Linked DNA regions of Homo sapiens: regions 1, 2, 3, 4 and 5 are each linked to region 6. Evidence: promoter capture Hi-C in 16 types of primary human blood cells and fetal thymus (Javierre and others, 2016). All regions are on one chromosome and are shown on one strand. The core of a region is centred on a gene start or on the middle of the fragment in contact, and the rest is flanking DNA. Distances in the headings are between cores, read along the strand shown.

Evidence for each region. The method cuts DNA at HindIII sites, captures the fragments that hold promoters and counts their contacts. A CHiCAGO score of 5 or more calls a contact.
Region 1: a contact is called between the fragment with the promoter of ABCB7 here and a fragment that was not itself captured in region 6, in 3 of 17 cell types (total B cells, non-activated CD4 T cells and naive B cells). The highest score is 6.9, in total B cells.
Region 2: the fragment with the promoter of RLIM here is called in contact with a fragment that was not itself captured in region 6 in 6 of 17 cell types (fetal thymus, activated CD4 T cells, monocytes and 3 more); the score reaches 10.3 in fetal thymus.
Region 3: the fragment with the promoter of CHM here is called in contact with a fragment that was not itself captured in region 6 in 1 of 17 cell types (total CD4 T cells); the score reaches 5.5 in total CD4 T cells.
Region 4: the fragment with the promoter of UPRT here is called in contact with a fragment that was not itself captured in region 6 in 6 of 17 cell types (fetal thymus, naive CD8 T cells, total CD8 T cells and 3 more); the score reaches 13.1 in fetal thymus.
Region 5: a contact is called between the fragment with the promoter of FTX here and a fragment that was not itself captured in region 6, in 4 of 17 cell types (fetal thymus, total B cells, non-activated CD4 T cells and 1 more). The highest score is 26.5, in fetal thymus.

Annotation. Positions count from the first base shown.
Region 1 is chrX:75,154,712-75,159,230 of GRCh38, reverse strand. It overlaps ABCB7 (ATP binding cassette subfamily B member 7), which reads left to right and starts at 2,948. Exons shown (of 16, transcript NM_001271696.3): 1 at 2,948-3,126. The coding sequence starts at 2,959. It also overlaps a transcript of UPRT not described here. RefSeq lists an enhancer at 2,838-3,267. The HindIII fragment of the contact is 6,846 bases long and covers 412-4,519 here.
Region 2 is chrX:74,613,158-74,617,420 of GRCh38, reverse strand. It overlaps RLIM (ring finger protein, LIM domain interacting), which reads left to right and starts at 2,797. Exons shown (of 4, transcript NM_016120.4): 1 at 2,797-2,999. RefSeq lists an enhancer at 2,873-3,192. The HindIII fragment of the contact is 9,843 bases long and covers 1-4,263 here.
Region 3 is chrX:86,045,597-86,049,907 of GRCh38, reverse strand. CHM (CHM Rab escort protein) reads left to right here and starts at 2,350. Exons shown (of 15, transcript NM_000390.4): 1 at 2,350-2,424. The coding sequence starts at 2,376. The HindIII fragment of the contact is 19,030 bases long and covers 1-4,311 here.
Region 4 is chrX:75,271,938-75,276,117 of GRCh38, reverse strand. UPRT (uracil phosphoribosyltransferase homolog) reads right to left here and starts at 2,033. Exons shown (of 7, transcript NM_145052.4): 1 at 1,478-2,033. The coding sequence starts at 1,863. It overlaps LOC124905200 (a long non-coding RNA gene), which reads left to right and starts at 2,082. Exons shown (of 4, transcript XR_007068269.1): 1 at 2,082-2,640. RefSeq lists enhancers at 1,653-1,862, 2,023-2,072, 2,093-2,142. The HindIII fragment of the contact is 1,552 bases long and covers 942-2,493 here.
Region 5 is chrX:74,291,799-74,295,850 of GRCh38, reverse strand. It overlaps FTX (FTX transcript, XIST regulator), which reads left to right and starts at 2,277. Exons shown (of 7, transcript NR_028379.1): 1 at 2,277-2,499. It overlaps LOC124905199 (a long non-coding RNA gene), which reads left to right and starts at 3,255. Exons shown (of 2, transcript XR_007068266.1): 1 at 3,255-4,052. RefSeq lists an enhancer at 3,023-3,813. The HindIII fragment of the contact is 8,135 bases long and covers 1-3,182 here.
Region 6 is chrX:80,807,029-80,811,112 of GRCh38, reverse strand. It overlaps BRWD3 (bromodomain and WD repeat domain containing 3), which reads left to right and starts at 1,236. Exons shown (of 41, transcript NM_153252.5): 1 at 1,236-1,672; 2 at 1,809-1,867; 3 at 2,071-2,100; 4 at 2,515-2,574. The coding sequence starts at 1,642. LOC124905202 (a long non-coding RNA gene) reads right to left here and starts at 2,305. Exons shown (of 2, transcript XR_007068278.1): 1 at 1,820-2,305. RefSeq lists an enhancer at 922-1,001. The HindIII fragment of the contact is 808 bases long and covers 1,756-2,563 here.

The DNA of each region.
Region 1 (4,519 bases), core at 1,699-4,198, 5.7 Mb after region 6:
GTACAAAAAGACAAATACCACATGTTCTCACTCATATGTGGGAGCTAAAAAAGTATATCTCATGAAGGTAGAGGGTAGAATAGTGGTTATCAGAAGGTAAGAAGAGCAGAAGGGAGGGGACAATGAAAAGAGGTTGGTCAATGGGTACAAAAATGTAGTTAGAAGGAGTAATATCTAGTGTTCTATAGTACAGTAGGGCAGGTGACTATAGTTAACAACAACTTACTGTATAGTTCAAAATAGCTAAAAAAGATTCTGCAGTTCTAACAACCTCTCAAGTAATGCCAATGCTAGTGGTCCATGGATCACATTGGAATAGCAAGATTTTAAGGGAAATAACACAAGGCAATGGTGATACAGAGTGGTGGGGACAGGGGGTGGCCTCTTCAGATAAGGTTCTCTTGGAAAGCTTCTCTAAGCAGGTGACATTTGTTTTGAGACCTGAAAGATAAGAAAAAGTCATTTAAAAATCTACAGGAAAGATATTCCTGGTAGAGGGGAAAGCAAGTGGAAAGGTCCTGAGGTGAGAATAAGTTCTGGTATTTTTTAGAAACAGAAGACCACTGTGGCCTTCTTAAATTGCTCAAGTGTTTCTTCCACATTTCAGGTGTTATTAAGTGAAAAGAGCACTATGTTTGGAGTCATAAAACCTAGGTTTGGTCTCCATCCCATTAGCTCTGTGGCCTCTGACCTAGTCACAACTTTTCTTAGCCTCAGTTTCCTCATAAATATGGGCATATTAATAAATAATACCTATCTTCCATGGTCGATGTGAGGACTAAATGAAATAAGGTATGACAAAGCGGATTGTAAGTTACAAAATACTATACACATTTAATTATTGCATACATAAAGTGCTATCATGTGATCTGTGGTTGTAGCAGCTATTTATAGCAGCTTTTATTGTGTATACCTCTGTCTCTTTAATTTATGTCAGACAGTTATGTGTCAAGTTATTACAGGCTGAGTTGGCCTTTTTGTTGCTGCTCTTCCCCAGCAGTGTGCAACTCTTATTATGCCTCACGTTCTATTTCTGGGTGCCCTGGAAATTTTCTTCGGCTTATTTGGCAAATAAATATTTGCCTCACTTTAGCTCATCATAGAGTAACAACTTGGGTATTTCAATGTTATTCACACTTTTTGATCAAAACAGTTGGCTTACAATGAGCACTACTTTTGGAAAAAAATAATTTGGCTCCATTCAAAGACTTTACAACTGGGTGGTAAGATTCAGTGGCAATATTCAGCCCTAAGAGAAATCATTAGTAGAGTCTAGAGTTTCTCTAATGTATACTGTAGCTGTCTAACACAGAATAGATGCTGAATAAATATTTGTTGATGACAATATAGTCATTAATATGAAGCCATTACTGATCTACTGTCAACAATACAATAATAAGCTAGAAACATCCAATTAGTCACTAAGTCTTGCCAATTCCATCTCCTAATTGCCCTGCAATCGATCTACTGCCACTGCTACTGCTAGGTTGAGGCCTTTATTTTATGACTGAACTATTGCATTAACTTCATGACTTCAATATGAACTCCGTCCAATCCAACCTTCTCACTTAAGCCAGAGTAGCTTAATGGACATATAAATCTGATCATGTTACTCTCCTGATTAAAACTCTTCACTGGTTATAGGATAAAGTATTAACTTCTTAGAATGAAATAGAAGGCCCTTTACCATCAGGTCTCTGTTCACTCAGGTTAACCTCCTACTACTTTCCCAAACTCCATAGACTCCTGAACCTGAAAATATTTTCTTATGCCTTCTTGCTTTTAACATGTCATCTTCTTTACGTGTAATTCCAGTCAACCTCTTCAACTTGAATTCTATTTTTCTTTAAATAACTAGCTCAAGCATCCCCTTGAATGAATCCCAGAACAAAAAAGCTAACTGCATGGGCTACAGATTTCTGTTTTTCTTTATCAGACTTACTAGTCCAAAGTACCTCTTCATAAGAAGTCCATAATTATTTGTCTCTTTTGTGTGAAAAGTTGGAGAATGCAGCAGTGAATATAAAATTGCAACTGCATTATTGTCTCCGGGGTTTCAGGTAACATTTACAACTGGAAATGCAGTTTCCTAGATAACTGTAAACATATTTTGACATTTTGTTTGATAATAGTGGTGACAAAAGAATATAAGCCTGTCTTTAAACATGGTCTTCTCTCCATACATTTCACTTTACCACCCTTCAGCCAACCTAAGCGATTTTTCAAGAATTAGGGACGCTGCAAAAACCAAAGCGAAGAGCTAGAAAGAGTGACAAAATTAGTAAAGATGTCTGTAGTCTCTCTGTGTGTGTGTGTGTGTGTGTGTGTGTGAGACTGTCCCACGAGCAACAGACCAAAGGAAAACTGCCCCAAGGTTTGCGCAACAGAGAACAATCAGCAAAGTTAAAGTCCTTACAGGACAGAAAAGCAGTAAATCTTACAGCTGAAGCCTCCTCCCAGGGGAAATTAACGTCTGTAGTTTAATCTTTCCTTAATTCAGAAGGGAGTGAAGATAAGAATATGCATAGGGAAAATGGAGAGAGGGGAGCGTGACATTGAGTTGGAGGAGGTAAGAGAGTATTATGAGAGACAAGATGGGGTTGACAGATTTAGCAGATACAATATTTGGGACACACGCACGAAGAGATGATTCGTTGTTTATGTAAAATTGAAACTTAACTAGGTAGGCATCCTGTATTTCATCTGGCAACTCCAGGAAAAGAGAAAAATACAGTGTTACTCCAATATTCCCGGTTGTGTAAGGAAAACAATCAAAGCTCGGCCCTAAGGAAAAACAAATAAAAGAGGCTGTGCGAATGCATCCGAATCTTCAAACAGAATCCATTTCCGGTCTGGGGCCCTGGGAAAACAAGAAGAGGAGAGACAATTAAGGTAGCCGAATTCAGTCCGCCAGTGTCCCATAATCCTCTTCTCTCGGTTCCTCTTTCCTCGCTCAAGATGGCGCTGCTCGCGATGCATTCTTGGCGCTGGGCGGCCGCGGCGGCTGCTTTCGAAAAGCGCCGGCACTCCGCGATTCTGATCCGGCCTTTAGTCTCTGTTAGCGGCTCAGGTCCGCAGTGGAGGCCACATCAACTCGGCGCCTTGGGAACCGCTCGAGCCTACCAGGTGAGATGCCACTGACATGGAAGAATAGGGTGAAGGGCAAGGGGACCTGTAGGGAAAAGGTTGCCCTCCTGACCTCGGGGCAGAGAGAGCACCAAGAAGAAAGTCATGGCTAACTGGGAGCAGCAGTAAGTGAAGGAAATTAACGTCAGTAATTTGAGGAAAGGGCGAAGAAGAAAACCTTTGAGTTCAGCAAAGGGAAACGGGGCAGGAGGTTCTGGGCAGAGGACACCTGGAGCGCTGGAGGCTCTCGGAGTCATAGTTTTTCTCTCATATTAAGAGTTGGGGTAGACACCATTCCCAGCCTGCTTGCCTTTCTAAAGACGAGGAAGACTGGATTATTTTCCCCAATTAGTAATGGAATTTGGGACAGTTTATCTGTGGTTCAGATTTTACTCAGTTGGAATTAGCAATTCGGAGAGCACTGTAATGACAGCAAGCTATCTATAAACAGGTGGCGCCAGTTAACTCCCTTGCTGACAGGCGTGCTTCTTGATAGGCCAAAACCGTAACTATCTTTCCAAAACATAGACCGCCCTAAATTCTTGTATAAATATGACTGTCCTAGATCTGAAAAATACAGTGATGTTCTCTGTGCACAGGTCATTTTGGAAGCCATAGGCTACTTATCCTTAACTTATGAATGTAGCTATGGTTGTAGTGCCTCCTAAAATTTGAGTCCATTATTACCTCTCACTCAGGAACGGTTTTTTAAAAAATTATTTGTACTTAACTGTACTAAAGTATATCTTTTTATTTTCTGTGTATTGACAAGAGGTTTAATTGCCACCACGTATTTATCACTATCACTTTAAAATATTGTCAGTTTTGTATGAGAAACAACCTCTTAAATTTTGATTCTTCATCTACAAATATTTAACGTCTACCTTGTACATAGCCCTGTGCTAGATGATAGGGTACTAAGAGAGACATACAGTTATGCCTTCAAGGATTGTACAGTTTAGTTAAGGAGATTGGATCTATGCATTACAAAAATAACTGAAAAACACAGTGGTGGGTTAATTAGCAAATGAATAGTATGTACAATAAAGGCTATAGGCATCCAGAGGAAATAGTGATAATTAAGGACCAGGTTATAAAGAGTATTTCATGCTGGTGATAGAACTGGGGAGAATGTTCTGAACAGGGAGAATAGGGAATGACACTAAGCATGTGGAAGGCTGATGGAATGACATTTATAATTCATTCAGTAATTATTGAACACCTCTACAGGAGCAAACAAAATATAAGTCCTGTCTTTAAAGAGCTTAAAATCTAGTGGGAAATATGTAAATTAATCGGCAATTAAAATATAGTGGAGCTGTGTAATAATGGGAAAGGTACAAGGTATGGGACAGTATATGTGAGGGGTATTAAGTCTAATTGTAAGGTAGTG
Region 2 (4,263 bases), core at 1,548-4,047, 6.2 Mb after region 6:
AGAGACGGGGTTTCACCATATTGGCCAGGCTGGTCTTGATCTCCTGACCTTGTGATCCGCCTGCCTTGGCCTCCCAAAGTGCTGGGATTACAGGTGTGAGCCCCTGCGCCCGGCCGGTATTTATCTTTTTAAAAATCAATGTTTAACAACTCTTTATAGGCTGATATTAGCCATATGTGTTTATCACATATGTAACATTTTTGCTAGTGTTTCGTCTTTTTATTAAGTAAAGATATTACCCCTTGGCTCTAATATGTCATTATGAAATGATTTTTTTCAATTTATCATTTGTCTTTTAACTTTACCAACCTTGTATTTTGACATTTAGAAGGTTTACTTTTATTTATGAAGTTGTACTTATTAGTCTTTCCCATTATGGATTTTGTGTTGTATTTCAAAAGTGCTTCTGCATCCCCAAGGCTATAGAAATATTAACCTAGGCCTGGACAGTGGCTCACGCCTGTAATCCCAACACTTTGGGAGGCCCAGGCAGGCGGATCATGAAGTCAGGAGTTGGAGACCAGGCTGCCCAACATGGTGAAACCTCATCTCTACTAAAAATACAAAAATTAGCCAGGCGTGGTGGTGCATGCCTGCAATCCCAGCTACTGGGGAGGCTGAGGTAGGAGAATCGCTTGAACCCAGGAGACGGAGGTTGCAGTGAGCTGAGATCATGCCACTGGACTCCAGCCTGGGCAACAAAGCAAGACTCCATCAAAAAAAAAAAAGAAAGAAAGAAGGAAGGAAGGAAGGAAGGAAGGAAGGAAGGAAGGAAGGAAGGAAGGAAGAAAGGACAGAAATAGTAACCTGTATTTTCTTCCACTTCTTTTATGATTTTATATTTTAGATTAAGCCACATAAGCCTCAAGAATACGTTAAGGAGTGGCTAATGTTATTGCCATAATCAGAATATCAGGCTTAATGGCAATTGCAGGCTACTGAAGAATTCCTTTTACACGTTCTAGGTAATCGTTCTAGTACATGATTATGTAAAATAAGACAAAAACCTGAGTAGAGACACAGCGCCTAAATCATGTATCCCTCTGCCAAAAATGACAATATCAATGAGTCTTCTAGGGAGTTGGGCAGGTAAGTATGAGGGATATTGTTTTAACTGCTTGGAGTGAAATACTTATATTCCAGGCTGATATAACATCCATCATGGTGAGGGGGTAATTCTCCCAAAGTATTTTGAGGGCTTACTATGTGGTCGCTGGGGACACAACAGTGAACAAAACAGAGAGGTTTACTGCTCAGAAAGGGTGAAGTAAACAAACAAATAAATAACTTACTTTCAGATTAAGTGTTTTACAAGAAAAGTAAGCAGGTAAGGAGATGGGAGAAGTCGTTATTACTTTTTTCTTTTTTTTTTTTTCCTCAGACCTTTTTCCGCCTTCAGGAAGAAGTTATTTTAGGTAGGGTGGTCAGGGAAGGCTTCTCTAGGAAGTTAATAATTGCGAGGCTTGGATGATGAAAGCAAAGATATGAAAGTAAAATATTCCAGCAAAGGTAAAGTAGTTGAAGTAGGAAGAAGTTAGCTTTGTTGGAAAAACCGTAACAAAGCCAGCATAGCTGGCATGCTATTGGAAAACAGAAAAATTGGGAAAAGGAAAAGAATCTAAAAACTTGGGTAAGGTTTTCCTTTAACTGTGACAATGGGAGTGGCATGCTGTGTGGCGAGTTCCCTCAATTCTTTCAGGCATTACTACCTAAGAAAGGCCTTCTTTAACTGCCCTTTTACAAATCCCAACGTTATCAGATTTTCCCACCCTTTTACAATCACCGCCCTTTTTCGAATACTTTAGAGTTAATGCCTCAAAGTTATCAGTCTTTTAAACATCACGAATCCGTTTGTCCCTACAAGGAACTCTTCTGTCCCCCTTCCTTGATTTTTCTCCTTGGCATTTATCACTAACATGATATGTATTTATGTTTGATTTTTTCTAAATTATTGTCCCTGGCCCCTATAAAGACTCAAGAGAACTGGGATTTTGATCTGTTTTCTTTTTTTTTTTTTTTTTTTTTTTGAGACACAGCCTTGCTCTGTCACCCAGGCTAGAGTGCAGTGGCGAGATCCCGGCTCACTGCAATCTTCGCCTCCTGGGTTCAGCTATTCTCCTGCCTCAGCCTCCCGATTAGCAGAGATTACAGGCGCCCGCCACCACGCCCGGCTAATTTTCGTATTTTTAGTAGAGACTGGGTTTCACCATGTTGGCCAGGCTGGTCTCGAACTCCTGACCTCAGGTGATCCGCCCGCTTCGGCTTCCCAAAGTGCTGGGATTACAGGCGTGAGCCACCGAACGTGGCCTGTTTTCTTTCTTAATTTTGGTCTATTTTAATTTCCTAAGCAGCTACAATGGTGCTTGACATGCAGTTGGCACTGTGTAAATACATGTTGAATAAAACGCAGGCTACTTTTTGAACTGGTCTGCACGGATTGTGTGAACTGATGTGATGTCAGGGTAGACTAATATCACATTTCTCTCTCTCTGAAAATGTCTTCAAGCAGTCAGACCGTGACGTCCTTCAGTTTTCAAAATGGGAAAGCGAAGGTTCCCACAATTCTCAGAACGCAAATTTCTCGCCACAATTCAAAATGGCGGAGGAGGGTGGGGCCTGTCACATGGTGGGCGTCATAACAGCTTTCCTTTTCCAAACCGCCGCCCGCCTTGCCGCGTCGTCTGCCGTCCCCCTCCTCCTCCCGCGGAGCCTTTTCGAGGAATCGACTGGGATTGGCTAATAGGCTGGGAGTGGGGCTGCGGTGCCGGGACGCGGCATCATCACTTCCTGTTGTGGGCAGTCGTTTCCTGTCGCTGCTTGGTAACAATGGGGAAGATAATGGCTGCCTGAGCAACGTCTCCGAGCAGGCGCTGGGCTAGAGGCGGGTCTCAACCAGCTACTCATTGGAGGCGGGCTTGAGAGCGGCGGCCAGGGAGGTGCGGAGCAGCCTCGGCGGCGGCGGCCGAACCAACCGAGTCGGATCCTGACCCTAAAACCTAGTAAGTGAAGACTTGGGAATCCTGTGAGAAATGATGTAGAGCGAGAGGAAGACAGCGGAGCCGCGGCTGCCGCGTTCTCTCAAAATGGCCCGAGTGACGCGTCGTGGCAGAGGCTCAGCGCCGCCTCCGGACCCCAGGCCCGTTGCTGCGGGGGGCTCCGTGGCGTAGTCGCCGCTGCCATTTTAGTTGAGTGGTATAGTCGACAGGCTCTTTGAAGGGGAAGGAGGTGGGTAGTACTTCCTCTCGGTGGCCGCGCGAGCTGCAGCCCAGGCCCTCCGGAGCCTTAGGAAATCGGGGGAGGCAGTTTTTGAGTTTTGGCCTCAGGCGTCAGAATCTTAGAACGTCTCAGGCTTTTTCTTCTCTGTTCTCTGGAGGCTTCCCTGACCTCCCCGCGTTTTCCATGGCGGGCTTGGGTTTGGGAAAAGGGAAGTAAAAAATCAGGCTGCCCCAAGTGAGATGCTGGCAACTCTTGGGCCTTTAGATTTCCAAAACCTCATTTTGAGCCCTTCTGCAGGGTATTACCAATTAGGCGCCCCCTGGGGCCGCGATGACATCTTCCCTGAGGATCTGAGGCAAATGTGGTTTACTCCCTTGCTCGAATAACCCTGGCATATCCTTTGCCAGGTATCACTGGAAGGATCCCCCCGCAAAAGAGAGGGAAAAGCCGTTAGGTGTTTGTTGTGTTCTCCTGGATAAGGGATGGAATTGGGCCAAATTTTCAAGTTAATTTGTGTTTAATCCACCAACAACTCAATCCCTCCCCCATTAAAAAAAAAAAAAAAAGCCTAGGGGGGTCTCTGCTTCTGCAGACGGTACCTGCCACGCATGCCATAGCTTAGTAACTAGTATTAACCGGTTGGGCTTCTGCTTCCTGAATACTCGGTCCCTTTTTCCCTTATGCTGATTAATTTCAAGATGGAGGAGACAGCCACGTTCCTTCCCTAGACAGTTTCACCATACTTATTCCACAGGTTAGTCTGGGAATCTGAGGCCTAGCAGTCTTGTTATTGAGGTCATTTTTTTTTTCATTTTGGGGCAAGAGGAAGCAGTTGTATCAGATTGTCATCTTCCATTTGCAAGACCCCACAATGATTTTTTGCCAGAAGTAAGGAGCCCGCATTTCCTGAATCAGAATTAACCGCAGTGTTTTGGACTGATTGAAAGGGGGAAGAAATAATAAACCTACTGCTACTAATCATTTCTTTCATTCTTCGTGATTATAGACAGAGTAACTACTTATCACCCCATTAAGTACATTGTATCT
Region 3 (4,311 bases), core at 1,101-3,600, 5.2 Mb before region 6:
TACAGAGTAATTACTTGTTTATTTTGTTTTACCCTACTAAATGTAAACTTCATGAAGACAGGGGTTGTTGTCTGTTTTGTTCATTGCTCTAATCTCAGCATCCAAAATAGTGTCTTGCACATAGTAGGTGCTGAATGAATATTTGAGGAATAAACAAATTAATGAATTGCATCTTCATGGTGTGATTGTCAGAAAATTTCTGAATCCCTAGAAGGTCAGTGATACTCATATTGAAAAGTATATGTATGTAGTTTATATATCTCGTATACATGAACAAATGTATATAAATATATATCCAAAGTATGGTAGAAATACTTTTATTTATCAGGTTTTTAACCATCCATCTGTGGCTTCTCATTATTAGAGAAGATTTTGGAAAGTTTTCTGTGTTTACTCTGAGAAATCCATTTGTTTCCATTTTCTACTGTCTTATCAAGAGTCTCACAAATAATATCTGTTTCACTTCTGATAATACTAAAAACTTGCTTTACATACCAAGGCAAATGACAAAGTGGTTTACTGAACAGTACATTATACTTCTCAGGGGAATCTGTTTTACAGAAAATACTAATCAAAGACCATATCTTAAGAGAGTTGTGTAATACAACTGGATGATCTATAAAAGAAAGTAATGAAACATGTACAATGTTGCTAATGATTATGGTAAAATGCAAGAGAAATGCAGTAAAAAGCGTATCAAAATACATTTTAAAGCATTTTCATGTAAATATTTACAATTAATGGACACTGAACATCTTCTAAATATAAGACACATGATAGTGGTGGGCAGATATAAAGGCAAAGATGGTAAGCACTATGAGGACAGGGACTCGTCTCATCCATCTATTAGGGGAGTCAAAATCAAGTTTGGTTTAGCAAACATTTATTAAATTCCTACTATGCACCGGGCTTAGGTTAGGTGCAGGAGTGAAAAAGATAAATGAGACTTGGTGTCTGTCATGCTGTACAGGGGTTTATAATTATGGTATTGCATGTCTGGGTGTGTATTTTTGTGTGGATATATGGGGATATGTGTACTCTATAGGAATCGTCATAAATGCAGTATGGCGGGTTAAGACAAAGTCTAGCACCATGTAGGGAAACAGCCCACACACGGAGACGAAAGGAGGAGGAGGTGGAAGCCCAGCGACATCCTGGGAATAACTGTTAGCTAGAGAATGGGAAGATCATTCCATGCTGAAAGAACAGCATGAGCGTGGTCAGAGACTGGAAAGAAAACAATGTCTGGGGAACCACAAGCATCTTAGCGGATAGGTGGTGTCAGGGAAGGCCCACTACTGCACATTATCTTTGATTTATTTTGAAACTCTTGTAAAATAACTACACAAGAAATTTCTGTCGTCAAAAAAGTATCCTCCTTCATTCCCAGCATCCTTCCCCTTTTGCTTTGGTGTTGTCAGACAGCGGAGTATTAAATAATCGGGGGCAGGGTGGGGGGCGGTTGGAGGGAAGCGGTGGGAGGCGACAGACCTTGAAGATACTTATGAGAGCTATGTTAGCTGTTAGACATAGACGACCTAAAGCCCCTCATCAGATACAATCACTTTAATATAAAGACCATTTTACCTTAATTATTTCTACGGTAGCTTATGGAAACTAATAGATTGGAAACTAAATGTAAACTAAGGAGAATCTTACATGAACTTATCTAGTTGGTGCGGAAAATCGAATTCAGACTCAACAGACGCTTATCCAGCGCAACCATGCTTTCATATATTTTTTCCCTCCTGTAAAGCAAGGCTAATTTATTGCCCGAGTGGCTGTCTGGACTAACTGGAACAAATACGGACGCGGTGGGAGTTCCATTCTGGCGAAACTAGGGTGAGAGGTTTTTTGTGGGTTTTCATCGAGGAGACATGGAAACGAAAAAGATATGGAATATATTCTGAAAGTATTGGTGTGAAAAACCATGCCTCGAGGGCCAACACGAAAGTACAGAAACGATGGCGGGAAACAGTTTTTTAGGCTGGAATGAAAGTCTCCTTTGTTCACAGAGCAAACCGCCTTCAATTTCACTCCGCTCTCCGTGTCTCCTAACAATTTTGCTTCAGTATTGTCAAGGGGTATCCAAGTCTCCCACATTCATCCTAGCTAACGGAATAAAAATCTACATTTCTTTCCTACTTCAACCCTCCAGGCTAAATGAGCTACAGCATTCAGCCTGGAAAATGAGTCGAGCTTTTAACTTACGTGTAAACATTTTAAATATAATACTGTAGTCGCCTGCCTGGACCTTCCACCCAAGAACTACAACACCCAGAATGCACTGTTTTCTTTTCCGCCTTCCACGGAGGGAATGCCTAACTTGATCTCATTTCCACAAGTAATAGTCACATGACACGTTTCCCGTCAAGATGGCGGATACTCTCCCTTCGGAGTTTGATGTGATCGTAATAGGGACGGGTATGTGTAGCCTGGTGCTTCCTGGACAAAGTTTAGGAAGACTGTCTTGTTTCTGTTTTTTCTGTCAGTGGCGAGTTTTGGGACAAACATCGTGGGTCGAGAGTGGGAGGGAGAACTGAAAGGAAGTGAGGTAGTCCGGAGTCAGCGCGGGAGTTGGCAGTTACAGGGAGGGGCTGGGACCCGCAGTGCTTATCGCCATTTGAGTAGGGGTTGATCTGGTCGATGCTGATTGCTGAGGTTGGTTGCTGCGGTGATTCCTGTTAATTTCCTTAGAGGGAAGTGGATGTGCAGTGTCATGAAATGGAGGGTCGGGATTTTATCAACGGAGACGACTTTGGCAAGACATTATGATTCCTTCCTTATTGATTTCAAGGTGATATTCCCCATCATTTTGTCTCGCCATTTCATAGGACTTTTTCATAGATTTGTATGATCTTAGCATACATCGCAGCTCAGACACAGCTTAATCCTCAGTTTTACAAGAAAGATGCTCAATTATTGCCCATGTGCGTATGAATTTACTAGGGAAAGTAAACGGATTCTATTTTGTTGAGAAACCTAGGGAATTTTATTTTGTTGAGGTAGCCATTATTCCTGCTTTATGGTGCTTAAAGCATCTTGCTTTCTACCATCAATAACTAAATGTGCTGAGAATAAGGTCCTGAGTTCCAGTTCAGGTGTGTGACCTTATCTAACTCTTGTTTTCCCGTCGTTTGTTCTTCATGTTTTGGGTGGAACCAGAAACTCCTCTGCAGTTTCTAGTTGACATATTCAGTGTACAACACGTAGCAGAACACATATGGCAGCAATTTCAATTTTTTTTAATAGTGTAAGGGATGATCATTTTAGATGGAATGAAATAGGTTGTTTGATGGGGTTTTTTACTGTTTGTAGAATGTGGTAGGCCAGAGAAGCTCTGGTGGATGGGACCCTGTCCATTGTGTTAATGAATTCAGTTCGTTGTCTTCTCATACAGCCATGATTAGGAGCAGCCATGTTTTCAGGTTGGGAGTAAAAATAATAGCTACCTGTTTTCGAATGCTTAAAATTTCCTAATCACTGTGCTAAGCACTTTACAAGCCGAACATAATCCTCACAACCTTGTTAGAGTAGTAGGTACTCTCTGCATTTTGTAGAAGAGGAAAAGGGGACTTGGAAAAGTTGTAATTTGCTCAGGATCACACAGCTGGTAAATTTCCAAAGGCCCATTCCATCCCAGGAAAACAGTCAGTGGTTCTGATCCTCAGAGTTGACCCATATTCGTAGAAACAATTGAGAAAACTTGGTTTTAGGTCTTGCTTAGTGCTAGTATGAATTGCTTGAATTGGGAGGGCCAGGCACTAAATCTCTCTGAGCCTCAGTTTCCTTGTTTTTGAATATAAGGAAGGTAAAATAGATGGTCTTTATGTTGTCTAACAAAAAATGCCTGGGTAACAGTTCTCAGAACAGCATGGACAGGTTTATTCTTAGCCTGAAAATAACTGCATGGCTGCAAATAACCTGGTTGTAGCTGCTATGAACAGATGTTGGATGAGAGCTGGAAAGAGCCAATGGACTATTCATTTTTTCTTTTAAGTCTATACTAAAACTGAGAACAGCATCCATTTTGGAATAGTTGTTATACCATACTTGAGTTTTATAATCTTGCTTTTTTTGTGTAGGAACTTGAGGTGTTTTTAACAATTTTTTTAATCAACAATTTTTTTTTTCAGGTCTGGGTTCAAATTTTAATTGATGAATGTTAATTCTTATGAATGATGCTAATGTTTTTCATAAATATTTTGCCTTCTGTACAGTTCAGAATTGGAAGACATCCATCCTGATGGAGTCTGTTATGGTAGAGGTAGGAAGTTACAGTGAGTGAGCCAGAGAATTGCATCAGGTGAC
Region 4 (4,180 bases), core at 784-3,283, 5.5 Mb after region 6:
ACGTACATAAAGGAGACACAGGGAATTCCAGATGAGAGCAGAAACAGATATGTTTCAGAATTGTTCCTAGGAACTATGAAGAAGGGCCTTCATCCCAAGCTAAGGGGGCCAGGCATGGTGGCTCACACCTGTAATCCCAACATTTTAGGAGGCCGAGGCACGAGGATTGCTTGAGGCCAGGAGTTCAAGACCATCGTGGACAATATAGCAAGACCTCCATCTCTACAAAAAAATAAAAAATTAGCCGGGGGGCAGTGCCATGTCCCTGTAGTCCCAGCTACTCAGGAGGCTAAGGCAGGAGGATTACTTGAGCCCAGAAGTATGAGGGTACAGTAAGCTGTGATCTCACCACTGCACTCCAGCCTGGGTGACAGAGAAAGATCCTGTCTCAAAAATATCAATCAAGCTAAGGATCCTGGACTTTATTTGGTAGGCTCTGAGAAGCCAAAGAAGGTTGCTGAGTAGGGCAATTACTGAATCAAAGATGTATGTTATGAAGATTGATTGTACAGTAATGTATGGGTGCATGTGGAAGAGAGGAAAAACTGCAAGCAGAGAAACAGTATTATTACAATAGTGTAAGACAAGGTTTCTAGAGTCTGGTTTAGGGAGTGGCATCTGTCATTCAGTAGCCATTTTTAAAAGATCAAGGCATGTCCCCCCAACCCCTGCCACTAAAAAAGGGGTGTTTTGATATGCTGCTCATTTAAAGTGCTGCCAATAAAGAAAATAGCTGTAGTTCATCATGGTACATATTTCCCTGGAGAAAACCCATTTACAACGTAGGTTTAGAAATTTCAAAATTACATTTTAACATGAAGTTCTGGCTACATTGGTTTGTGGGATTAGGAAGGGCCAAAGGCTCCTTTAGGCTCCCTTTGATCCATTAACTATGTTCTGTGAGTTTACAGTGAAAAATGATAAGAGTTGGACGATAAGCTTTCATGTGATCAAGTAAACCTGAACTCCAAGACTAAAAGACCTTGTTTGCAGTAGCAAATACTAAAGGGTCAGGGCCTGAATAGAATTTCCTTGAAATTGCTTTATTTCTATTTATGAACCTGAGGTGATTGGTGGTAGTGCATAACCTTGGATAGTAACCATTTCTGGGTTATAGGTTTACCATGTGGACAAGCACTGCCCACATAGTATAGGGGAGTTTACCTGCCTGGAATGGCCAAGGAGTTGTCTTTCCTGGGAGAGACAAAGAGCCCAGAGGCTACCTAAAGTCTTCCTCCCCACCCAAAGTGATGTTAGACACCGGAACTTGGAAAGAGAAGGTTGGCGTTCGAGTTACACGACACACACACACACACACACACACACACACACACACACACACCAAATAAAAGGTCTTACCCCAATCTCCAAAGTTTGCCAAGGCCAAGAACACTGTCTCTTAGCCCTTTTACTTCCAATCCCCGCCCACAGCCTGCAAGACCCTCCACTTCCCTTTCCCCTTCCGCTCTTGGCTTACTTGTCACGGATGATGGTCTGTAGCTCCCGTATCTGATCATTCATAGGCAGCAGCTTAAGCTGCGCCCCGATCTGCCGGGAGAGTTCGCAGTCCTCTAGGAAGGAGTTGCCAGCTGGTGCGTCATAGCTGCTACTGTCACCACTACCACTGTTGCCCTCTGAGTTGAGGCTGGAGCCGCCGCAGGCCCCAGAGTCCAGCTCGGCCGGCAGGCTAGAATGGGCGTACCCCGTGAGGAGAATCACCTTGGCCCTGGAGGCTCTGTTTCCCCCTGCGTGGTCCAGGATCAGATCGCCAGGTCGCAGCTGCTCGGGACTTGGGGTTGAGGCAGAGTTTACTTGCTGGTTGTGACAGGGCATGGAGTCCGGACACTGTAACTCCGTGGCCATACACCGGGCCCCGGGCTATCCCCGCTGCTACTGAACACTAAAGATAAAGAGGAACGGGTAGAAAGGACAGATGCTCACGTGCTCTCTCGGTTGCTCCCGCCTCCTCAGAACATCTAACCCTGGCTGTCCTTTCACCCCTAGGCCGCTGTTGGTTTCCTTTAGCACACTTTGGCTCACTCCCGCCCACACCAGACGTACTGCCTGCCTAGACACCCTATTGGCTGCACTCCCCGCCACTCTGCGGCGCCACTGCTTGTTAACCCTTTGAGTCACCCTTGCTACGTGGGTTCCCACAGGTAGCTAAGCCCCCGCAGCGAGGCCAAGGATGCCAGCTTGAAGGATCTTCCGGGGGCCCCTGGGGCTTCTGCATTCAGAACTTTGGGTGATTAGTAGAGCCAGGAAAAACTGGGGGTGGCAGGTGATGATACACAGTTACACACGTAAGGCCCATGTTTTCAGACTTTGTGACCTAGCAGAGAAATTATATCTCAGTAACCGCATCTTCAGTTAGCTTGTCTGCATAACAGAAGGAAGAAGTAAAAAAATGCCTAGCAGGCTGCTGAAGAGGCTGTCCTCTACTAGACTGTTCTAGAAACTGCAGCTTCCCAAGTATGCTTGACCGCCAAAGCTTTTCTTATCTTTATTGGTTGGGCCCCACAGTGTACACGTTGTCATGGGGACTCAGGCGGCATTTCAGATCCACTATCATTTTGAATCTTTAAAGTACTTGGAAAGACGCTTATTTTTAAGTGTATGGACTCACTATAACGGCCTGAGGTAAGAGTGTCTAGGGCAGTACTTTTCAAACATCAGTATGTACCACAATAATTGTAGAGCTTGTTAAAATGCAGGTTCTTACGGCTCATTTTTGAGATTGTGATTCTGTAGATCCGAGATGGGATACAAGAATCTTTTTTTTTTTTTAACTTTTAAGTTCAGGGATATATGTGCAGGTTTGTTACATAGGTTAACTTCTGTCATGGGGGCTTGTTGTAAAGATTATTTCATCGCCCAGGTATTAAGCCTAGTACCCACTAGTTGTCTTTCCTGATCCTCTCCCTTCTCACACCATGCACTCTGCAGTAGGCTCCAGTGTGTGTTGTTCCCCACTATGTGTCCATGTGTTCTCATCATTTAGCTCCCACTTATAAGTGAGAACATGCAGCATTTGGTTTTCTGTTCTTGTGTTAGTTTGCTAAGGATAATAGGCTCCAGCTCCATCCATGTCCCTGCAAAGGACATGATCTCATTATTTTTTATGGTTGCATAGTATTCCATGGTGTATATGTACCACATTTTCTTTATCCATTCTATCATTAATGGGTAGTTAGGTTGATTCCATGTCTTTGTTATTGTAAATAGTGCTGGAGTTAACATATGTGTGCATGTGTCTTTAATAAAACAATAATTTATGTTCCTTTGGGTATATACCCAGTAATGGGATTGCTGAGTTGAATGGTATTTCTGTCCTTCCTTTTTTTAACATGCCTATACAGATTTTTTTATAATTTTTTTTTTATTTCCATAGGTTATTGGGGAACAGGTGCTGTTTGGTTAGATGAGTAAGTTCTTTAGTGGTGATTTGAGAGATTTTGGTGCATCCATCACTCGAGCAGTATACACTGTACCCTATTTGTAGTCTTTTATCTCTCAAGCCCTTCCCACCCTTTTCCTCCAAGACCCCAAAGTTCATTGTATCATTCATATGCCTTTGTATCCATCATAGCTAAGCTCCCACTTATGAGTGAGAACATACAATGTTTGGTTTTCCATTCCTGAGTTACTTCACTTAGAATATTAGTCTCCAATCTCATCCAGGTCGCTGCAAAAGCCATTAATTCATTCCTTTTTATGGCTGAGTAGTATTCCATATATATATACATATATATATATACACATATATATATGTGTATATATATATATACATATATATGTATATATACACATATATATACACATATATATGTGTATATATATATATATCTCACAGCTTCTTTATCCACTCATTGATTGATGGACATTTGGGTTGGTTCCACGTTTTTGCAATTGCGAATTATGCTGCTATAAACATGCGTGTGCAACTATCTTTTCTGTATAATGACTTCTTTTCCTCTGGGTAGATACCCAGTAATGGGATTGCTGGATGAAATGGTAGTTCTACTTTTAGTTCTTTAAGGAATCTCCACACTGTTTCCATTAGTTGACATTCCTACCAGCAGTGTAGCAGTGTTCCCTGTTTGCCACATCCATGCCAACATCTACTATTTTTTAATTTCTTTGATTATGGCCATTCTTGCAAGAGTAAGGTGGTATTAAA
Region 5 (4,052 bases), core at 1,028-3,527, 6.5 Mb after region 6:
CCACCTCTTTTTTTTTTTTTTTTTAAATAGAGACAGGGTATTGCTATGTTGCCAAGGCTGGTTTCGAACTTGTGGTCTCAGGCAATCTTCCTGCATTGGCCTCCCAAAGTGCTGGGATTACAGGCATGAGCCACCACGCCCAGCCAAAACATTATATATTTGAACAAAAATCATAAGAGAACACAAAGATGCTTGCTATGGTTTGAATATGTCTCTCAAAGTTCATATGTTGGAAATTTGATGCCCCATGTGGTGGTGTTGGGAGGTGAGGCTTAAAGGGAGGTGTTTGAGTCATGGGGGCACCACTCTTATGAATAGCTTAATGCTATTATTGAGGGAGTGGGTTTGTTATTTCAGTAGTGGGTTCCTTATTAAAGGATGAGTTCTGGCCCCCTCTTGCGCGCACTCTCTCTTTCTCTATCTCTTTGCCCTTCCACCATGGGATGATGTAGCAGGAAAGCCACTGTCAGATGCCAGCTCCTCAGTCTTGGACTTCCCATTCTCCAGAACTGTGAGGAAATAAATTTCTGTTCTTTATAAATTGCCGAGTCTGCAGTATTTTGTTACAGTGGTACATAATGGACTAAGACAATACTAATGGGTATGAAGTTTCTTTTTGGGGTGATGAAAATATTCTAAAATTGATTGTAGTGGTGGCTGCATAATTCTGTGAATATACTAAAATCCATTGCATTGTACACTTTAAGTTGGTTAACTGTATGATATGTAAATTATATATTAATAAAACCATTAAAACAGAAAAATAACAGAGATAAGAGCATTTGTTAAAATAGTGTTGTAGAATTTGGGGTAAAATTTCTTATATTTTAACTTTTGTGTAATAATAAATGATTATTTTAATTTAGAAGAGGTTCTTTGTACCACTGAGATTTCGGCATTTCTTTTTTATTTAATGCATGCCTATTTCTCTTTTTTCTTCTTCATATGCACATTGTTGTATAATTTTTTGGGCGTATTATATAACAAATGCAAACCCATTTTTCTCTGAATAATGTTGATATAACATTCTTAAGTTAATTTGAGAGGATGGTGATGTATAAGTTTATGAGTTTTAGGATTTATGAATTTGCGGGTCTCAGTTTTTGGTATTTCCAAACTGGCTCTTTTAGAAAGCAATAAGAACCAGACACCAAAGTAAAACATAATAAAGAGAAACAAAATATTATTTTGTATTCTTTCTAGTTCACACCCAAAGAGGGATCTATTTCAGAGCCTCTTAAGTAAATAATGCCATTTCCCTCAAAATTAATATTTGAGTTCTTACAGAAGACAAGAACAGGCCTTGTAGTAAGCAGTGAAGGACATTGAATCTCATTTTTAATGTCCAGACAATACCAGGGTTGTGAATAGAAAGAAAAGAGCTTTCCATGTTGGTGGTCTACTGCCTCTTACCCCCAAATTGATTGAACACTTTTGCAGTTTTTGTTCTGGTTCCCTGTCTCTGGATCTTCCCTGTGGGTCATCATCAAAAAGGTGTTCTCTTTGCCCAAGACAGGCTGGTTGAGCTCACCCTGAGAGCTGCTTTGGAGAGGATGTGTGGAAATATTTTTTTTCTTTTTTTGAGATGGGGTCTCACTCTGTTGCCCAGGCTGGCAACATCATAGCTGGCACAATCATAGCTCACTGTAGCCTCGACTTCCTGGGCTCGAGTGATTCTTCCACCTCAGCCTTCTGAATAGCTGGGAGTACAGGTGCGCACCACCACGCCCGGCTAATTTTTGTATTTATTTGTAGAGACGGGGTTTCGCCATGTCACCCGAGCTGGTCTCGAACTCCTGAACTCAAGGGTTCCGTCCACCTCGGCCTCCCAAAGTGCTGGGATTACAGGTGTGAGCCACCGCGCCCGGGCTACAATTATTTAAAAAAAAATTTTTGCGGTAATTTTTACAAATTTCAACATCAGGCATAGGAGGAGAGGAGTAAGAGGCCCAAGAGGGCTGCAGACTGGCAGGGAAAGTGAAGAATTGAAGGGTAGACCACTAACGATAGCAGAGGAAATAAAGGTAGATGGTGGGCTAAGAATAATGGGAGAGGGATTGACGAAAGAAGTATGGGCTGAGGGAGGGATGATGGTGGAGGCCAGTGTGACCGAGGGGAGGGGAAAGGTGGAAGAAGCAGAGTGGGATAGCGTCCTGGGAAAGAAGTGAAGGAGGTCGGTGGACCGCTAAGGGTTAGACTCCTAGAGGCTGGAGAGCGGCGCGTGGGGGAGGCGGGGCGCGGAGGGGGGGTTAAGGGGCGTTAGCAGCGCATGCGCTGGAAGCACACTGCGGCGATTCTGGAGAGGTTGTCCTTTTCTGGCATCAGCGTTGCGGCTCGAGGCAAAGCTGGTCCTGTGCCTGCTGTCCATTGCCGCTAAGGCCTGCTGCTGCCATTCAGGCGTGTCTCTCTCTCTCTCTCTCTTTCATGCCGCTCTCTCCACCCCATCTTGGGACGGCCAGCTCTAAGAATTCCTGCTACGACACTGAATTCAACCAGGAGGTAAAGGAACGATGTAGGGGAAGAACAGAACATGGAGGGCGGCGGAGGGAACTTGGGCCAGGAAGATCCTTAATTTGTGCATTTTTCCAGTTCACGGGAGGAAAAAATGGAATACGTTACAGGCCCCAGTTTTCCAAAAGGATGTTGAGCATTTGCTTCCCATTGTGAAAGGAATGCGGGTTCCTTTCCTCTAACTAGAGTCAAGGCACCTGAGCATCGGTGTTTTCCATAATGTTCCCTGTTTAAAACATTTGTGGTTCGTCATTTGTAGCAGATGTATTTAAAGGGCGAGGCCTTAGGATTATGTTCATCCGATGGTTTGTGAAAGTTTTCCTTGCCTTTGTTCAGGTTGACCGGTCTTATGTGAATCCTGGGGTACTCTAGCCCCCTCCCTTGGAGTTGGGACCGATTCCATCTAGATCTGGGATTCACTCTGATCACCTGCAACGCCTTCTTTCCCCGATTCAACTTCCCTAGTTTATCGCATCTACTCGCATTAGGGAAGGCTGGTAATGGCTCTCCTTGGGCACTGGGGCAGAATTGTGGCGAGAAACACGTCCAGATAGCATCAGGCATGCATACTGTATACAAATGGGAGCAAGAAGAGAGAGGACTATCGCGGTGCGCAGGGTATTTGAGAGGCTGGATGAGGAGGCGCGGCGCCGAGGGGCGGCGCTCAAGCTTACAGTATTTGAGAAGACCTGAGTTAAGGGGACGGGCTCCAGTGGGGCGGGGGTGGGGAGAGGGAGGCACGCATGCGCAAGGCTTGAATGGCGTCGGGGTTGGAGGGTTGGAAGGTCGGGAAGTGAAGGACTCGCAGGCATATTTAACAACGCAAAGTTGCTAGGAGTTGGTACCAGCGTTTGGGAGGTAGAGGTGGCGCTCATGCATATTTGAGACAACATCTGGATGGTTGGGGAGAACGGTAAGGAGGAAGCGGCGCGCATGCGTATTTCAGACGGAGTGCCGGGGAGGGGAGGCGCTCAGCATTCGGGTAATTAAGGTTGCAAAATGGCGAGGGGGGAGGTAAGCTGTCTTTGCTTGGCCATCTTGGGCTAGCAGGCCTTGCAGAGAACTACCTTTTTAGCTGAGTGAAGGGATCAACCTGAGTTGGAGTTCTCCTATGCTGTGGCCAGATCCACTAGAAATTAACCCAGAATCTTAGCCTCTCAGTGGCCTATCGGTAAGTGGGTACAAAAATGAGGAGGCGATGATGACTCTGCAAAAGGTTGCGGCAGCTGGCGGTGCGTAGGAAATGCGTAAAAAGGGAGCACTTGGAGACAGGCCACATTTGGGCAGTACGCATTCGGAGGGCTCTCTGGCTTTCCGATCTTGGGTCGCTGTACTTGGCTCTGAATACAGTCACCCCATCAGAGTAGCAAAACACTGTGGTTGTAGTGTGAGAATCCAATGTTAATGTTGGCCGAAAGCTCTTGATTTTCTTCCCTGAGAACATAGGCGTGAGGATTTGGATGTGTTTCCAAATGCTTGTTACTCTTTGCCGTAAACCTGGAATTTGGACCTATGGCTGCCTGGGACTCATACTGTCGTGG
Region 6 (4,084 bases), core at 910-3,409:
ATTACCTCCTGTGGTTATTGCTTTCTGAGGAAAAAAAAAAATTACAAGTGAGAGCTAATCAACCTAGGCTAAGTTTATGTCAACTTAGAAATTCAAGGCCCACTGTGGTCAGTGGCAGAGCTGAGTGAGGAAACCCAATTCCCAAGAATATAGCCTTAAATTTAGATGAACCTTCAAATTGTAATATTTCAATGTAAATAATACATGCAACTTAAAATGCATTTCTGGTCTCATCAGGTTTAGGTGAGGGAGTGGGGTGGGGACAGGATGTTACGGGAAAGTAGGGAAGAAAAGGACCCGGTTTACTAATCTGTGTCAATTATCATACCAACCCCTTTCATCATTGAAGATTTCAGCAACCAAATACTGAAGGTCAGTGCGGTACCAAGGGTTGGGGTTATATATTAAACAGTGTAGTCCCGAACCTGTAGAAAACTATTGATACCTTGCATAGAGATAGGCAATAATACATAAAGATTATTGAAAACTCTTGGTTAAAGTACTTTAGTAGTATTTGAAAACACAATAGGAAATTACCCTGTAGGAATGGGATGTGTTAGATCCCAGCCGTAGATACGGCACGTGTTAAACTTTCAGAAGGGGAAACATGCTTCACGGCTGATTGCAAATTTCTCATGCAATATTTGTCAGAATCCAGGAGCATTTTAAGTGGTCTTCTAACAATATAAGCCCCGCACTTTGGACTGGTAAGTACAACATTTTCATTTGGTAAATAATAATAATTTTAAACAGAAACAAGTCACGACCAAATAGCGACTCATCCTCCCCCAGGCATAAAACCCTTTAGCCAGCTAGCCGCCTTTCCACGGGGTAGAGTATAAACAGCAAACAAAACCGCTTTGGTACCGGGAGGAAAAAGGGGAAAGGAGTCGAGTCAAAACACCGTCTCTTAAGTTCCTCAAGATCAACCCAGGGGGAAGGGTCCTCCACCGGAAAGGGCCGGATTGCCTTCACAGGAAGGGAAAGTCACTCCGGAGCTCGCAGACGCGAATGCCACCACAGAGTTCCAAGGCGGCTGCCAGAGCGTCGGCCGTCAGTTAGCACCTCCCCCTCCTTCCCAGAGCTGTAGCTAAGCAACCATCGGGCTCCGGGAGAGTCTAGGCTCAGCTGCTGTATTAGTGCCTCTAGCGGGGAACTATGAGCGCTGCAAAACCCTATCACCATTTTTACCCTCCCCTCTCTCCACCCCCTTTGCCCCCGCCCACCTCTTCGCCACTTCGGCTCCTCCCTCTTCTCGCTCCGTCTATCTCTCTCTCTCTCTCTCTCTCCGCCCCCCCACCCCCCGCGTCTCTCTCTCTCTCTCTCTCTCTCTCTCTCTCTCTCTCTCTCTCTTTTTCCTCTCTCTCTCTCTCTCTTCTCTCTCTCTCTCTCACTCACTCACTCTCTCTCTCCCTCTCCCTCTCCTCTCCTTCCTCCTCCGCCTCCTCAGCTCTTGGGCTAGAATATCTATGGGTCGAAACGTGATGCGATGAATTCGAGAGAGAGCGAAACTAGGACGAGGAGTGCGGCGGAAGCGGCGGGACTCCCGGGCATGGGGGCTTCACCACAATAGAGGCAGCGCCCCCACCCGCCCCCGCCAGCCCCTCCGGAGCGAAGCCCCCAAACCCCCTCGGGAAAAGGATGGCGGCAGCACCTACCCAGATCGAAGCCGGTGGGTAGCTGTGTCGGGGGGTGGGGGGGTGCTAAGGGAATGGGGGCTTAGCGCGAAGGCTGTCAGTTTCTTTTGAAAAAGCTTCTATTTCTCTTCTCTACCTCCCTCTGAACCTCTTTTCCCCCCTCTTCCCCAGAGCTGTATTACCTGATCGCTAGGTTCTTGCAGTCTGGACCCTGCAACAAATCCGCTCAGGTAAGGGGAAGAAAGAGATCTGGGAGTCGTGGTGAATGGTCCCAGTGGGGAAATCGAGGCAGCGGGACGAGCAGTTCCGTTGAGGGTGAGGGAAAGGCCGGCCTTGACTAGTCAAACGGTCAGCGGCTGGGCTTTAAGTGTGGAGGGAGGAATGGGTTGATGGCCCGAGCTGCTCCTCATATCTGTGTTTCCCTTTTGCTCAGGTGCTAGTGCAGGAGCTCGAGGAGCATCAGGTACGGAGCCCCTTCGGGAAGGGTGGGGAGGGTTGAGGTGAGACTGGAGGAAGGGGAGGGCAAGTCAGGGGCGGAAGACGGGCTGGGATAGAGGCTTCGATCTGGGTACCCGTAGCTGTTGTCACCGGGGTGAATTGGCTTCTTCCCTCAAAAGGGGCAGACAACGCTGGGGTCTTAACTCGTCCCCGCTTTATGCTTGTGGGAGGCAGTTTTTCAGGATTTCCTTCTCGACCCCCCTTCCCCCCCCCCCCCATATACTTGTCTAGCTCTGAGCCAATAGCTATCAGGCCGAGAGAAATAAAGACGGTAAAGTGTTGAGGACTGGGACACAGGTTGGGTCCAGTTGATGGGGAGCGGAGGCTTTTCCTTCATCATTTGCCTCCGCTTCCCCCTTTCTTTTCGTCCGGCCCCCAGCTGATTCCGCGCCGCTTAGATTGGGAGGGGAAAGAGCACCGAAGAAGCTTCGAGGATCTGGTGAGTAAAGTTTTCATTTCAACTTAACCTAACTCTTTCACCACTCCCTCCCCACCTTGTACCCCCAACCCGCCCCCCACCTCTCAGCCGACGAGGTTCTAGAGCTCGGTGCAGAGCCAAAGAACGACTGCCCCTTCCCCCATCCCTGCTAGTCGGAAAAAGGGTACCTTGCCCTCCCCTTGGCCCTGCTTGTTTCCACCCGAAAACTTTGAAGAATGTGAGTTGATTATCAGAGGTGCCGTGTTGTGGATTATGAATATGTTACAAACATTGGGGAAGGCCCATTGTAGGCGGAAAAGGGAGAGAAACCAAGGGGTTATCTTGGGGCACGTACTAAGGTCTGACGCTGGCCAATGACAGCGTTGGTAACAGCCCGGAGTTCCGGATTAGTGGAAGAAAACTGGTTTCTGGTTGGTCCTGGCCTGAAATACGGGAACTAAGGCCAGGCTTGGTCTTTTTTGGGGGGGGCGGGGGGGCAGGGGGGAGGCGTGGGAGGAAGGGGCTCTGGAGGGGAATTGACGGACCAGGGATTAGGAAAAACGACATAATTAAAAATAATAAGGAGCGTCAAGCCAATTTCAAATTTTGCCGGTTAGGTAATGGTCTACTGAGTAAAAGCATAATCGTTACGTATCTCCGATTTTATAAGCTCATTCAATTATCAGTTAAGTCGCATTTGCATAGACCCGTTTTCACTAAATAGAAACTGAGTTATCACTTTTTGAGAATTGGTGAAACACGATTTTGGGTTTACAAGGAGACAACAATGGACATATTTAAAAATGGAATATACTTTAGTGAAGGACCAAAGGCATTGGTCTATGTTGTTTCTCCTGCAAATATAATTCATAGTATAAATGTACCTTGTGTTCAGCATTGACACACAAAAACAGGTGATCCTTTTTATTTTGCGGGGGAGGTTCCCTTGTGTTAGCTGCTGCCACAGTGCATTGGAGGGTAGTGAAAGGAGAAAGGAATGATGTTACTAAAATCTAAATTCAGCTATCTTTCCTTCAAGTAAGATCCAAGTGGAGGAAAATCGGACAAAGTTAAAGAAAGTTGGCGGTGTATGATAGACTCTAAATATAAATGATTTAAAATTTGCTTGCAATAAGACTATATTTAAATTGCTTCAATGTTCATTTTGTTATTTTTGTTTGTGTTATCTTACAACAGTGAGGCCACATTATTATTATCAAGTCTACCGACTGTATAGTTTTCTTATATTTTGCAAATCACAGAAAATGGTATAATTGTGATAAGGGTAAACTCGACCATCTGTATTATTAATAGTAACAATTTCTCAGATGGAGAAAAATTAGTTTTGAAAAACTTCATGTACTGCCAGGTTAATTTGTAGTCAGTCTTTCTGTTGGACTTAAGTCTTTCCCTCCCCCTAAAAGAGGCAAAAACAACAGTGCCTACTAATATGTTTTAACACTTAATGACTGATACAGGTTTTTATATATAGTTTTAATACTGAGGTGTATTGAAAATGTTTTCCTTTACA